Linked DNA regions of Homo sapiens: region 2 is linked to region 1. Evidence: promoter capture Hi-C in 16 types of primary human blood cells and fetal thymus (Javierre and others, 2016). All regions are on one chromosome and are shown on one strand. The core of a region is centred on a gene start or on the middle of the fragment in contact, and the rest is flanking DNA. Distances in the headings are between cores, read along the strand shown. Region 1 holds the start of MC4R (melanocortin 4 receptor). Region 2 has its middle 32 kb from the start of CCBE1.

Evidence for each region. The method cuts DNA at HindIII sites, captures the fragments that hold promoters and counts their contacts. A CHiCAGO score of 5 or more calls a contact.
Region 2: a contact is called between a fragment that was not itself captured here and the fragment with the promoter of MC4R in region 1, in 1 of 17 cell types (naive B cells). The highest score is 5.2, in naive B cells.

The regions. Positions count from the first base shown.
Region 1 is chr18:60,368,901-60,375,595 of GRCh38, forward strand. It overlaps MC4R (melanocortin 4 receptor), which reads right to left and starts at 3,875. Exons shown (of 1, transcript NM_005912.3): 1 at 2,162-3,875. The coding sequence starts at 3,449. The coding sequence ends at 2,451. The HindIII fragment of the contact is 4,351 bases long and covers 3,839-6,695 here.
Region 2 is chr18:59,726,354-59,733,065 of GRCh38, forward strand. No RefSeq gene overlaps it. Among named protein-coding and RNA genes, the nearest start is that of CCBE1, 32 kb to the left of the region's middle. The HindIII fragment of the contact is 3,160 bases long and covers 2,908-6,067 here.

The sequences.
Region 1 (6,695 bases), core at 2,625-5,124:
GGAATCTGAATATTATGGTTGGATAAGGTCTGAAGTCGTGATGACATGTTGTTATTAGATGTAAGGTGAATGGAGCGGAAATAGAATCCCCTTTCCTTGAGGGGAATGTTCTCATACAATTCTGTGAATTTCAGTTCTTTGCTCCTAATATATTTAAAATTACCTACTTGGAATAACCACTTTCTCTGCATCTGCTCTAGCAGCCATGGTCACTACAGTATCTTCATTTCGTGTACTTCAAGCTTGTTTCCTCCAAATCTCCAGCCCCACTCTCACTCTCTGCTCCCTCCTGTATTCATCCTAAATATACTTGCTTAAGCCTACAGTTTTAAACCATAACACTTCCCCAATTGATACAATAACAATCCAGCTAGAGCTGGTGGGGCTCCAAATCTCACTGGATGTGGAATGGAGCTTAGAGGTGGCTTGGGTAAGGCCTGGCCTCTGAGGGAATCTTGTTTTTACTTGAACAAAAGGAAGCAACTTGAATAGAGGAAGACTTGGAGAATAGAAAAACTGAGTAAGAGACAGTCTCTGCACTTAAAGGAGCTGAAGTCCAATATGGTACCATGGCATATAGGGGAGGGTGCTGTTATATGGCTCGTTCATGAATTATACACACCCTAACACTGTAAACCACTCCAGGAGAAGGTATGAACCTGAAGAAGGAGGAGCCAGGATCTGAGATGGCACTTGGAGGAGAAATAGGATAAACTGGGAAGGGCAGCCACCACAGAAGATGGGGTGTGCTCATAGCTCTCTTTTTCATATCTCTAGTCCCTGGGATTTTTCAGATTCATGAAATGAAAGAATGGACAGGAAACGTAGCAATGAAAAAAACATAACTGTGTCCCTCTACTGCTATAGACTATGATTGTTAGATTAGTGTATATTTAAATCCTCACATTCACTTTTGCTTCAAAATAGAGGAATTGCAGTGGAATTAAAATTTCAGCTTTAGTACCACTTCTTATGTGTAAACTTTAACTTCACTATTATCCTTTAAGGTAGTGTTTTCAGATGAATGTTGAAAGTGTTTCTTGGGTCTTATAATCAGTGTAAAACATTTAGATTTGAGTTAAGGAGTACCTTTGCATATGACTTCTGCCCATGAGCATTTGAAGACCCTGTAAATCCTAAGATAGTTTACTGGTAATCCTCAACCTAATATATTCTTTTGCTTTATTTTAAATTACACACAGATTAGAAAGTACAGTACAAATTTTATTGCTCAGTGGCCAAATCTGTAGGATTATTTTGGAGCAAAACATTTTACTCTTCAAGAAGTGGCTGTGGAAGGCTAGTTTATTGCATGACATCCTCTGGGGTTTGGTAGGTGCCTCCCTTCCTGCTTAAAATGTACCAGCATCACAGATACCTTTATTTTAGTTATTTACAAATATTGCCAGAAAACACTTCTGCTATGAATTTGGTTTTGAAGTTTAAAATCCTTGATAATCAACATTTGTACTCCAGTTCAAAAAATCAGCAATAAGTAAACAGCAAGTCATTTTCATGTGAAATGAGAAAGAATTCGATGTCAGTCCTGTACTTCTCTAGAAACAGGAAGCTAAATCTCTCAGTACAATATTACCTTTTCTGGACACTTCAGCAGACCCTGAATCCTTGTTTAAAGGGGGCATAAATCCCCATTCTCTGTTTTATTAATATTGTTTAGGGATAATTTGGTAACAGGAAATTTAGCTTGACATGGCAACTTAGGTTTTCCAGGACACTTTCATCCCTATAGCTGCCTTTTCCCACCCACCCCAAACCGAATTGCCTGTGTGAAATATCAGGCTGTTTGCTAAGGGAGATGAATCTTTCTGTGTCTGAGAAGTACACATAGTTTTCTAACTCAGCATCTCTCTTTTTTCAGCACCTGTTTTTCTCTCTAGAGGAGCTTCATTTCTACTTCTGCACAGGGAGGATGAACAAACCTTTAATTAAATTACTTGAAATTTCAGTGATGATATTTTTAAAAATGATTATACATCTATTCTTTAAATATTTTCCCTTAACTGCTAGAATGAACTCTCTACATTTCAATGGTGGATAATATAATATAATAAAGCATTTATTAGAATATGTTTAATGAGGCTCTGATTTCTATGTTACGAAAGCACGCAAAGTGTCCAATGCTTATGAATAACACGAAGGAGACATTGTTAAGCTTTTAATAAGGACTTTTCTTTTTGTAAATCCACAGTGCCTACAACCTATAACATAGATTCATATTTTATGGCCAAAAAAGTAGCATGACATTGGAAATAATACAGAGACTGGGCATTTTTTCTCATTAAAAATCATAGGCTTAAATTTACACAATGGATATTCTCAACCAGTACCCTACACGGAAGAGAAAGCTGTTGCAGAAGTACAATATTCAGGTAGGGTAAGAGTGAAAAAGTCTCTTATGCATGTTCCTATATTGCGTGCTCTGTCCCCATTTAATATCTGCTAGACAAGTCACAAAGGCCTCCCAGGGGATAGCAACAGATGATCTCTTTGAAGGTTTTCCTCAGTTCTTGACTCCGGAGTGCATAAATCAGAGGATCGATGATTGAATTACACATGATCAGTATGAGATACAAGTTAAAGTGAGACATGAAGCACACACAATATGGATTCTGAGGACAAGAGATGTAGAATATTAAGTGGAGGAAGAATGGGGCCCAGCAGACAACAAAGACGCCAATCAGGATGGTCAAGGTAATCGCTCCCTTCATATTGGCACCTTGGCGGATGGCACCAGTGCCGGGGAGGACAGCAATCCTCTTAATGTGAAGCCTGGCCATCAGGAACATGTGGACATAGAGAGAAGCCATGAGAGCCAGCATGGTGAAGAACATGGTGATGAGGCAGATGATGACAGCACTACTATCTGAGTAAATGATGAACAAAATGCCTGAAACCGTGCAAGCTGCCCAGATACAACTTATGATGATCCCAACCCGCTTAACTGTCATAATGTTATGGTACTGGAGAGCATAGAAGATAGTAAAGTACCTGTCCACTGCAATTGAAAGCAGGCTGCAAATGGATGCAAGCAAGGAGCTACAGATCACCGAGTCAATGACATTATCAATATTCACTGTGAAACTCTGTGCATCCGTATCTGTACTGTTTAATAGGGTGATGACAATGGTTTCTGATCCATTTGAAACGCTCACCAGCATATCAGCCACAGCCAAGCTGCAGATGAAAAAGTACATGGGTGAATGCAGATTCTTGTTCTTGGCTATTGCCACAATCACTAAGATATTCTCCAACAAGCTGATGACACCCAGAGTCACAAACACCTCAGGAGAGACAAAAAGTTGCTCGTAGCACCCTCCATCAGAGTAGCCTTTTCCAAGGGACTCACTGGCATTGCTGTGCAGTCTGTAACTGCTGCGGTTCCAGAGGTGCAGAGAAGTGTGCATCCCACGGTGGGTGGAGTTCACCATGCTGGCAGGAGAATTCCAGTGTCCCCCTGAATTGATTTAACCTCCTGGGTCAGGGAGTCGTCTCAGTTATTTCCTCCAAGTCTTTATCTGTCTGAAAGTTGTGAGGCTAAAATTGCCATGCCTGCTGTGAGTAAATGTCACAAGTCCAGAGCTTGACATGGAGTTTTTAGTCTCTTTTAGGTACGACTCTAATCATCATCACTTTAAAATCTTGGGCTTCAAAATATTCATTCTCAGTTGAAAGAGTCTGCTCTTTGCTTTCTTGTTCTCACTTCTGCTTTAACTTTAATCTTATGCATTCAAGTCTGTTCAAAATAATTTTCCTTGAAGCTGCCATGCCATTGGGAGACGAATCTGTGCGCACATGCTCACATCGGCTGCCTCTCGGAAGCTTCTGTTTCCAGCCTGAGCGTTGCTTTGAGTGTTAGGGGCTGTAGGCGCCAGCTGCTGATTTTTATGATGTGTGGAGAGAAAAAAAACATGTTCACGGTGGCTCCTCCTCTGCTTCCTTCTGACCAATCCCAATGCAATGGGAGTCTGTGAGACAGGATTATGTTTCAGAGACACAAATTGCAGGGTGACACAGATTCAGATGCAGAAGCTCCTGAAGTCTGAAGTCGAGAAGCAAGCCGGATAAGAGACTGAATTTCCCTTTTTAAGTTTTCAAGGGAAACAACTTGATCCCTAGAGGCCATTCTGTGATATCAAAACAAGCTATCTTCAGGCAGCCAGGTTCATTCTTATGTAAAAGACATCATGTGTGTGTGTAAAATGAAATGGAAAGTATACTGTCTTATGTTCCTGAAACAGATACTCTGCTTTTTGGCTAGGATACTGAATTTATTTACCTTCTTAATTTTTTGTTTTTATTAAGAACCCAGCCAGTAGTGGTTCAGTTAAAATACCTGAAAAACAGAGAGGATATTTAATGATACAGATAGACATGGTATGGCTGGAAGAACTATGTAGGTAGCTATAAATTATGAATGGGTTCAAAAGGGGTTGATTTTAATGCACTAATATCCCATATTTCTCTATTGAGGAGTTTGTGTTATAGCTGAAAAAAGGTGCTTTTTATTTACAATATTTTAAACTCATACGGCATTAATGTAACTATGCTTACACTGAACTCAGGAAAATAATAAGCTGCATTCTGTTTTTTTTTTTTAAGCAACTTTTTTTTAAACCTCCAGAGTTTAACGTATCGTAAGTTGAACCGACAAATACCTAGTAACTTTACTTATCAAGCCAAGACTGGTGATACTAGTTAGTTATTGAAGTTTCTGAATATTTTGCTTAAGGTGGTTTGAAAGATGGCAGCAAAGTTACTTTCCAAATTAACTGAACAACAGATTATACAAAATTTTGTATATTCTTTTCTTCTATGATTATTTTTGGTTTTAGTGCTCTATAGTTTGTAGCTGCTTATTTCAGGGTTAATTCTGAATCTCAGTTACTTAGGTTGGGAATGTATCCTCTTTCCTTTTGTGACAGAGACAATACTAAGTATTGTTCCTGAGCATTGAGATAAATTAACGTCTTCCATCCACCTTTGGAATTGGGTAGGACCTTATGACTAAATTCTAGCTAATGGCATGTTGACAGTGGGGCTCATCGCATTAGCTCTTTCATAATTTTACACAAGTTTTCTCTCCTGTCTTTGAAATCTCATGTTACAGGTGGCAGGACCATATCATGAAAGGAGCCTGTCTCTTGAATGATTGCACAGAGCAGAACTCACACCTCCAACTCCCTTCCCCTGTATTTCTGAATGCCTAATCATCTGTATATTGTAAAATGCTGGAATGGGCTTTCCTGAACATCATGAGCTGGAAATAATCTTACCTTCCTCTTGCCTTATTTTTTCTCTTTTTAAAAATTGACATATAATTCACATACCAAAAAAAATCACCTCTTTAGTAATTAAATGGATTTTTGGGGGAATATATTCACAGAGTTGTGCCATAATCATCACTTTCTATTTCTAAAACATTTTCATTATCCCATTAGCAGTTGCTCCCCATTTTACCCTTTCCTTATCCTCTAGGAACTGCTAATCTACTTTCTGTCTCTATCAATGTGCCTATTTTAGACATTTTATATGATTGAAATAATGCAATATGTGGCCTTTTGTGGCTCACTGTTTTCATGTAGCATAATATTTTCAAGGTTTGCTTACACTATAATGTGAATCAGAATTTGATTTTTAAAAAATTAAAACAGGATCTTGCTCTGTCACCCAGGCTGGAGTGCAGTGGCATGATCATGGCTCACTAGGTTCAAGTGATCCTCCTACTTCAGCCTCCTGAGTAGCTGGAACTAAATGTACCTCCACACCCAGCTAGCTTTTAAAAAATAATTTTGTAGAGATTGAATCTCATTATGTTGTCCAGGCTGGTCTCAAACTCTTGGGCTCAAACGATATTCCCATCTCGGTTTCTCCAAGTGCTGAGATTACAGGCATGAGCCACTGTGCCCAGTTTTGATTTGTTTTTATGGCTGAGTAATATTCCATTGTATGTATACATTTATATATATATATATTTTTTTTTTTTTTTTTTTTGAGACGGAGTCTCGCTCTGTCACCCAGGCTGGAGTGCAGTGGTGCAATCTCAGCTCACTGCAAGCTCCGCCTCCTGGGTTCACGCCATTCTCCTGCCTCAGCCTCCCAAGTAGCTGGGACTACAGGTGCCCGCCACCGCACCTTGCTAATTTTTTGTATTTTTAGTAGAGACGGGGTTTCACCGTGGTCTCGATCTCCTGACCTCATGATCCGCCCGCCTCGGCCTCCCAAAGTGCTGGGATTACAGGCATGAACCACTGCACCTGGCTGTATACATTATATTTTTAAATGTATTCATCAGTTGAGGAACATTTGGGTTATTTCCAGTTTTGGCTATCACGAATTATGCTGCTAGGAATATTTATGGACAAATTCTTATGTGACAGATGATTTCAATTCTTTTGGATACACAACCAGGAATGGAATTGCTGAATCATATGATAACTCTGTTTCTTGTTTTGAGGAACTGCCAAACTGTTTTCTGAAGTGGCTGCACCATTTGACATTTCCAGTTAGCAATGTATGAGGGTTCAAATCTCTTCACATTCTTGCTAGCACTTGCTATTGTCCATCTTTTTTATTTTAGCCATCATAAGGATATGAAGTGAACTCTCATTATACTTTTGATTTTCATTTCCCTAATGCCTAATGATACTGAAGATGATTTTACATCCTTACCAGTT
Region 2 (6,712 bases), core at 3,238-5,737, 640 kb before region 1:
CGGCCAGCTTAACACGTCATAAAAATGAACAGAAATAGCCATGTTTAACTGTAAGTGAGGAACTTCAAATACCACCTTATTCAAATATTCCATTTCTATCAAACAAAAGATGAATCAAAAATTTAATTTCCTGACAATTTGTGTGCTTTGGCAGGAATGTGGGCAAGCACCAGTTAAGTGCTAAACCTGACAATGGGACATGTGTTTAAAATAAATGTCAGAAAAGAGCTTGTATCCCTGATTATATCCTTTTCATTGGAACTCGGATGAGATTGAACTACCTTAACATCAGAAACTCTAGTATAAAATTTTTAAACTGTTGGTGAGGGTTTGAGTTTGGGCTTATTCATTAAAATTGCCTGGACCTCATGGTCTTCATCTGTAGAATGAGAAGTTTGGACTAACTAGAGTCTATGACTCCTTCAGCTAAAACATACTTTGAGTTATATAATAGTTCATCTGTAAGTGCAGTAGCACATGGAATAAAGGAGTCAGTCAATATTGGCAAGTTTGTTTGTTTATTTATTTATTTAGAGACAGAGTCTTGCTCTGTCACCCAGGCTGGAGTGCAGTGGTATGATCTCAGCTCACTGCAATTTCTGCCTCCCGTGTTCAAGCAATTCTCCTGCCTCAGCCTCCCAAGTAGCTGGGATTACAGGTGCATGCCACCATGCCCAGCTAATTTTTGCATTTTTAATAGAGATGGGGTTTCACCATATTGGTCAGGCTGATCTCAAACTCCTGACCTCAGGTGATCCGCCTACCTTGGCCTTCCCAAAGTGCTGGGATTACAGGCATGAACCACCGTGCCTAGTCACAAGTTTTTTTAAAAAAATAAGATTTGACTTGGCCGGGCGTGGTGGCTCACTCCTGTAATCCCAGCACTTTGAGAGGCTGAGGTGGATGGATCATGAGGTCAGGAGTTCAAGATCAGCCTGGCCAAGATGGTGAAACCCCGTCTTTACTAAAAATACAAAAATTAGCTGGGAGTGGTGGTAGGCGCTTGTAGTTCCAGCTACTGTGGAGGCTGAGGCAGAGAATTGCTTGAACCCGGGAGGCGGAGGTTGCAGTGAGCTGAGATCGTGCAACTGCACTCCAGCCTGGGCGACAGAGTGAGACTGCGTCTCAAAAAAAAAAAAAAAAAAGATTTGACTTATACTTCAAGCAATTTGTCCAAGACGATTTTCACACAAAGGAACAAAACATCCTCAACTCAATAGAATGAGTCCTTCTATTCTCAGTTGAGACTTATCAATCAGCAGATCAGTCAAGGAGCAACGAGGCAGTAGAGAGGAGAAGAATCATTGATTTGTCACTGGAAAGTCAACAGATTTAAGAAAAGCACGCCATAAAAAGACTAGTCGCTTTAAAATAGAGAAAAATTGTGTATATATTCACATCACTAAGTCACTAAGTAAGAAAGAAACCCCATAGAATTATGGGTAATTGGAACTGATTTCTAAAACCATCAACTCACCAATTGAATTTATTGGATGTGAAACTTTGTGATCATGTTTTTTTTTTAAAAAAAAATCCTATAACACTTATGGAAAAAAGTGGAAATTTAGAAATATATTTCTACCTAGAGGTATTCTTTATTGGTACTAATATAAGCTGGGAGGAAAGGAGCTTCTTGAAGGGCAAAAGAGAAAAAAAAAATCCCCTTCCTCTGTGGTTGTACAAAGCAAAGGAACCTCAAAGGGAGACTTGAGGCCGGGCACGGTGGCTCACACCTGTAATCCCAGCACTTTGGGAAGCTGAGGCAGGTGGATTACTTAAGGTAAGAAGTTTGAGACCAGCCTAGACAACATGATGAAACCTCATCTCCACTAAAATACAAAAATTAGCTGGGTGTGGTGGCGGGCGCCTGTAATCCCAGCTACTCAGGAGGCTGAGTCAGGAGAATTGCTTAAATCCAGGAGGCGGAGGTCACAGTGAGCCGAGAGCATGTCACTGCACTCCAGCCTGGGTTACACAGCAAGACTCCATCTAAAAAAAAAAAAAAAAAAAAAAAAAAAAAAAAAGTAGAGAGACTTGAAAACACTACTCTCCTGAGAGAAGGGAATGAAAAGAGCCCTTCGATCAGATGAGGAAAAAGCCTAAACTTACAGTCTTGGCTATGCCCTCAGTCCCACCCTGAGTCTCAAGAACTGGTTATTCACCATCCACTACTGACAGACCACACCACAAAAGTGCCCACTGCCACTGCCCCTCTCCACCACCCCACGCCACACCTGACCACTCCAGTGGGGAGTATCCAGGCTCACTATGTCTAAGCCCTTTGTTCATACTCCACGGTGCTCGGTTTGTTTGCTTTAAAATAAAGACATTGCCATGGAATTTCAACTCCTAATTTATTCATTATTTCACTATCTTCCAATTCTACCAAAGGGGAATTAGAATTTGTATCCATTTTGTGTTTGCAAATATTTAAAAAGAAAACAAAAAAACAAATAGGTTGATCGTGGGGAAGGGACCCCCAGGGAGCACCACAAATCCTTTCAGAGGCACGCTCGGCCGTTCCACACTCTTGTCTCTTACGGACATACCAGAAATACTTTATTTAGTTTAAGTGAATGGAAAGATCCAGCACTTGGAAAGAATTGTTACTAGCCTTGTTTGTTCCAATAAACAACCAAGCTTCTTATTGCTCAATAAAAATCAAAACTGACAGTTTGTAAAAACCAGAAAACAGAAAATCTTGGACTATGTTTAAGGGATGATTGATATTTCCAGACTTTCATGAGGATCCTAAGGGAGAAGTCTATTTAGGTTTCAACAATGTCAGTGACAAATACTTCTCTGGAAAGCTTGCTACACATTGGCCAAAAGTTTTTCCAATTCCAATTCCAATTTGTATCTATTGAAAGATTTTGGGCTCATGGAAGAGCATTAGCTGGGGAAGTAAGCTTACATCATTGTAGTTCAAACATTCATTATATATAACTCTATAATTAATAATGAGTTCAGGTAAAATGGGAGGAATCTGCAATTTAATAGTAATTTCAATTCTGTTAATCCTGGGTCTGGGGCATATTTTAAAGATATACTTGACTTAGATACACTAGCTATGTCTGTCCAGGCCAAATAGAAAGAGATTTGAACTAAGCAACTAAGCAATTTCTTCTTGGACAATGCAAGCAAGAAATTACTCTTAGAAGAGGAGCTCTTTGAGAAGATACTGGACTATGGATGAATAAGATACATGGATAACAAATGAGGGCTTGGATCGGACAAAATGCCAAAATAGTCCCCCAGGATTTCCTGCCCTAATCCCTGGAACTGTGAGTATGAGTTATTATACCCATGCTCATGTTATGCTATTGGTACAAATCACAGGCTCTTTGGTTCCCCATGTAATAAAAAGTAACACTGAGCCACGCAGATGTCCTAGACAAGCCTTTTATTTCAGGGCTTGTGCTTGAGTGCAAGGGAAACAGCAGAGACTCAAGGACTCTCCAGCTGACTCCCCAAAAAAGCTGGTAGGGATATTTTTATTAGGCAAAGCATGGGAATGGGTGTCAAGGGTAATGTGTGCAGGCTGGAGTAGGCAAAGCACCTGAGGGGTGGGGTATGCGGTCAGCGTATCTGATTACATTGATCATCTTGAGTCATGGGCCACCTGGCGGGTCTGGCCAACAGCAACAAGGCTGCAAATGATTGCTGAGCATTCCTTCCCAAGGTGGGACACTCTTAACCTTGGTTTGATATTTGGATTTCCAAAGGCCAGTTCCTGGAATTCTTTAAGTAAAAGGCATGGTTAAACATCATGAGAGCACAGAAGAATGGCTATTTGCTTGGTATGACTAAAGCCTTGGGGTTAGCAAGTAGATTGCCAGCAAGGTAACGGTGTGAATTTTGTGATCACTGGGACGAGAGAAAAAAAGAGAAGAAAACATATGTGAAGGAGGAGTTGCATCCCATTCCTATTCTATCTCAATTCCCCGCTGAGAGATTTCACCTTTCCCCTCCTTATTCTTAAAGAGAAAGAACCAAAGATCTCATCTTCTGAAGCTACTTCCTGCTGAACAGGGTTGTCTTCCATGCCTAATCTTGGAGGGTGTGGAAGTCTCTCACTGACTGTTCTATAGACCTGCAGGGACAGAGATCCTTCTGGAATGATATGGGTTGAAATCCTTGGGCCATCATTAGCTTGACTTGAAACTATTGAAGCCTGAAAGATACAAACTTTACCAAAAGGTTAAAAATACAAGGCCCGAAAAGTAATAGCAATAAAATGACCACCTAGGGTCCAAGGAAAGGTAAAAATTCTGTCACTCATAGTAAGTATCCTTTGATGAAGTCCCAGATGGTCTGAGAAGTGGGGTTTTTGAAATTGTGCATCCAGGTAGCCTGTTGGTAAATCTTTTGAACTTGCAGTTCAACTAACCCTGAATTGTTAGCATAAGAACAACAGGTGTGGTTTATTCTGTGCATTCTCCCCCTTGTTCAGCTAGAAGATAGTCCAGGGCCAATCTCTGGTCTAAGACAACATTGACTAGGGAGTCTAGGGAAGCCTGAAGTTCTTTTAAATTTTCCCTCGTACTGGTTGACAGTGTTTGAAGGGTTTCTGTTAACTTCCTCAAAGTTGCCTCACAGTATGCAAAGCCACCCCCAAGTGTCTGCTAAACGGATAGCTATTCCAACTCATGCCAAAATTAGCTGTAAACCTGTCAGCCTTTTAGATTTTGGATGTGTGCTGTTATGAACTGTTATTCCATTGGGGCTCAAAGTACCTAAGGGTGCAGTGTGTTATACATTATAGACACAAGGGCATGCTGGTATGAGTAATGGACATGTGAAATTGGTTAGTGGATAGCTGTTGGCCAAATGGTCTTGGTGTCCACAAAAGGACACATATCCTAGGGGTGTGCAATTTACATGGGGCAAGAGGAATGCAGGTGACTGACTGAGCTTTGCAGAGAGGTATGACTGTTTTGGGCATTGGGAGAGAAAGACGAACTCCCCTAGTCCACGTTTGATTAGGGCTTTTTTTAAAAAAAAAACTGATGAGGGAAAAGCCTGTGAGATGTCAAAGTAGGCATTTCAACTTCCCCTTTTCCCACCCTTTCGATGACTGAAGCATTTAGCAGGCCAGTGAGGTTTATACATTCACAGGAAATGAGGCACTTAGGTGTACCATGAGAGGTGCAGGGGTTACTTTAGGTTCCCATACCTCCTTTGTGAAACTGGTAGTCGAGCTTTTAGGGAATGAAAGAGGCAGCCCCTGAGCCTGCTGATGATGGTGGCATATCCAGCAGTTGGACAAATTATTACCCAAAGCTGCAATGCCAGAAAGGTAGATGAGAGAGTTTGTTTCCCTTTTCAAGAGGGCCCAGCCCACCACGTCCCCCTACATGGAGGAGTAGGAACAAAGTAAAGAGGAGCATAACTATATGCAGCAGGGATAAAAGAGGTGTTTACCAGGGGAGGAGGCTGAGCAAAGCAACAGAATAATTGTAAAACAATTCATATTGTAAGGAGAATTACTGGACTCAAGATCTCTAACCACATTACTCCAGGGATGAACTGGCTCTCTTGAACAGGTATTTGAGATCATCCATAGGTTCACATGAGTAAGATGGGCTTTCTGGGCATGTCTAGAAACATTTAGGAGAAAAGATGTTTTAATCAGGTGAGGTGTACCCAGCTAGGGATACAAGGAATCCTCAGTTAGGGTACACCTCTGTACCTTACTGGGTGTTTGGATCACCAAGTAAAGTGCCTTCCATTTAGCCAATGGTTGTTCCTCCAGGAAGTCCTCCTTCCCAGTCTTAAGGAGGACTTGGTTTCCTGGATTAATCCATAAAGGGGTTTCCCCATCTTTAGTGGAGACTGGCAGGATTTTGTTCCCATATTCTGAAATTGCCTTTTGAACCTGTCCTAAATTAATTATATATTATAATTTTTAATTTAATTGTCCATCTAACAGGAGGTCAGTGGTGAGGAAACTCCTCTCATAGATCATCTCAGAAGAGTTAAGTCTTAGGCTGCCCCAAGGGGCCATGCAGACTCTAAGAAGTGCAACTGGGAGCATCGTAACCCAGGGCTGTAGGTCTCTTGACAAAGCTTTTCTAGAATCAGCTTAGGAATATAGTTCATCTTTTCAACTTTACCTGATGATTGGGGGTGCCAGGATGGCACTGTCTTTAATCTATTCCTACGATGTGAAGAGGCTCTGGGTAATCTTAGCCACAAAGGAGGGCGAATTATTGCTATGAAGGGATTTGGGGAGTCCAAATCAAGAAATTATTAATATTTATTTTGGTAAAGATTTATAGATTTCTACTGCTCCTTCTGTATGAATAGGAAAAGCCTTGAGTGACCCAATAAAAGTATTCACAAACACCAGGAGATATTTGTATCCTAGATTTGGGGGCATTTGAGTAAATCTACCTGCCAGTCTTCTCCTGGATAAGTTCCCCTGTGTTGAACCAGCTTAAGTCAAGAGGGAGGAACTGGATAGGTTTGGGGATTATTCTGGGAACACAGTTCATAGGCAAAGGTTACTTATTTTAGTTTTTCTCAATCCCTTTTCAATTAATATTTTATATACAATATTCCATAAAACATCTGTCCCATAATGAATGGCATCATGGAGATGCTTAATAAGTTTCTACTGGTCAGTTCCCGGAATAAAAATCTTATCACCATCTGGGAACCATCCATCATTGTTTTCCTCCTCTAGCTCTTCTTGTGAGTATCGTGGGTG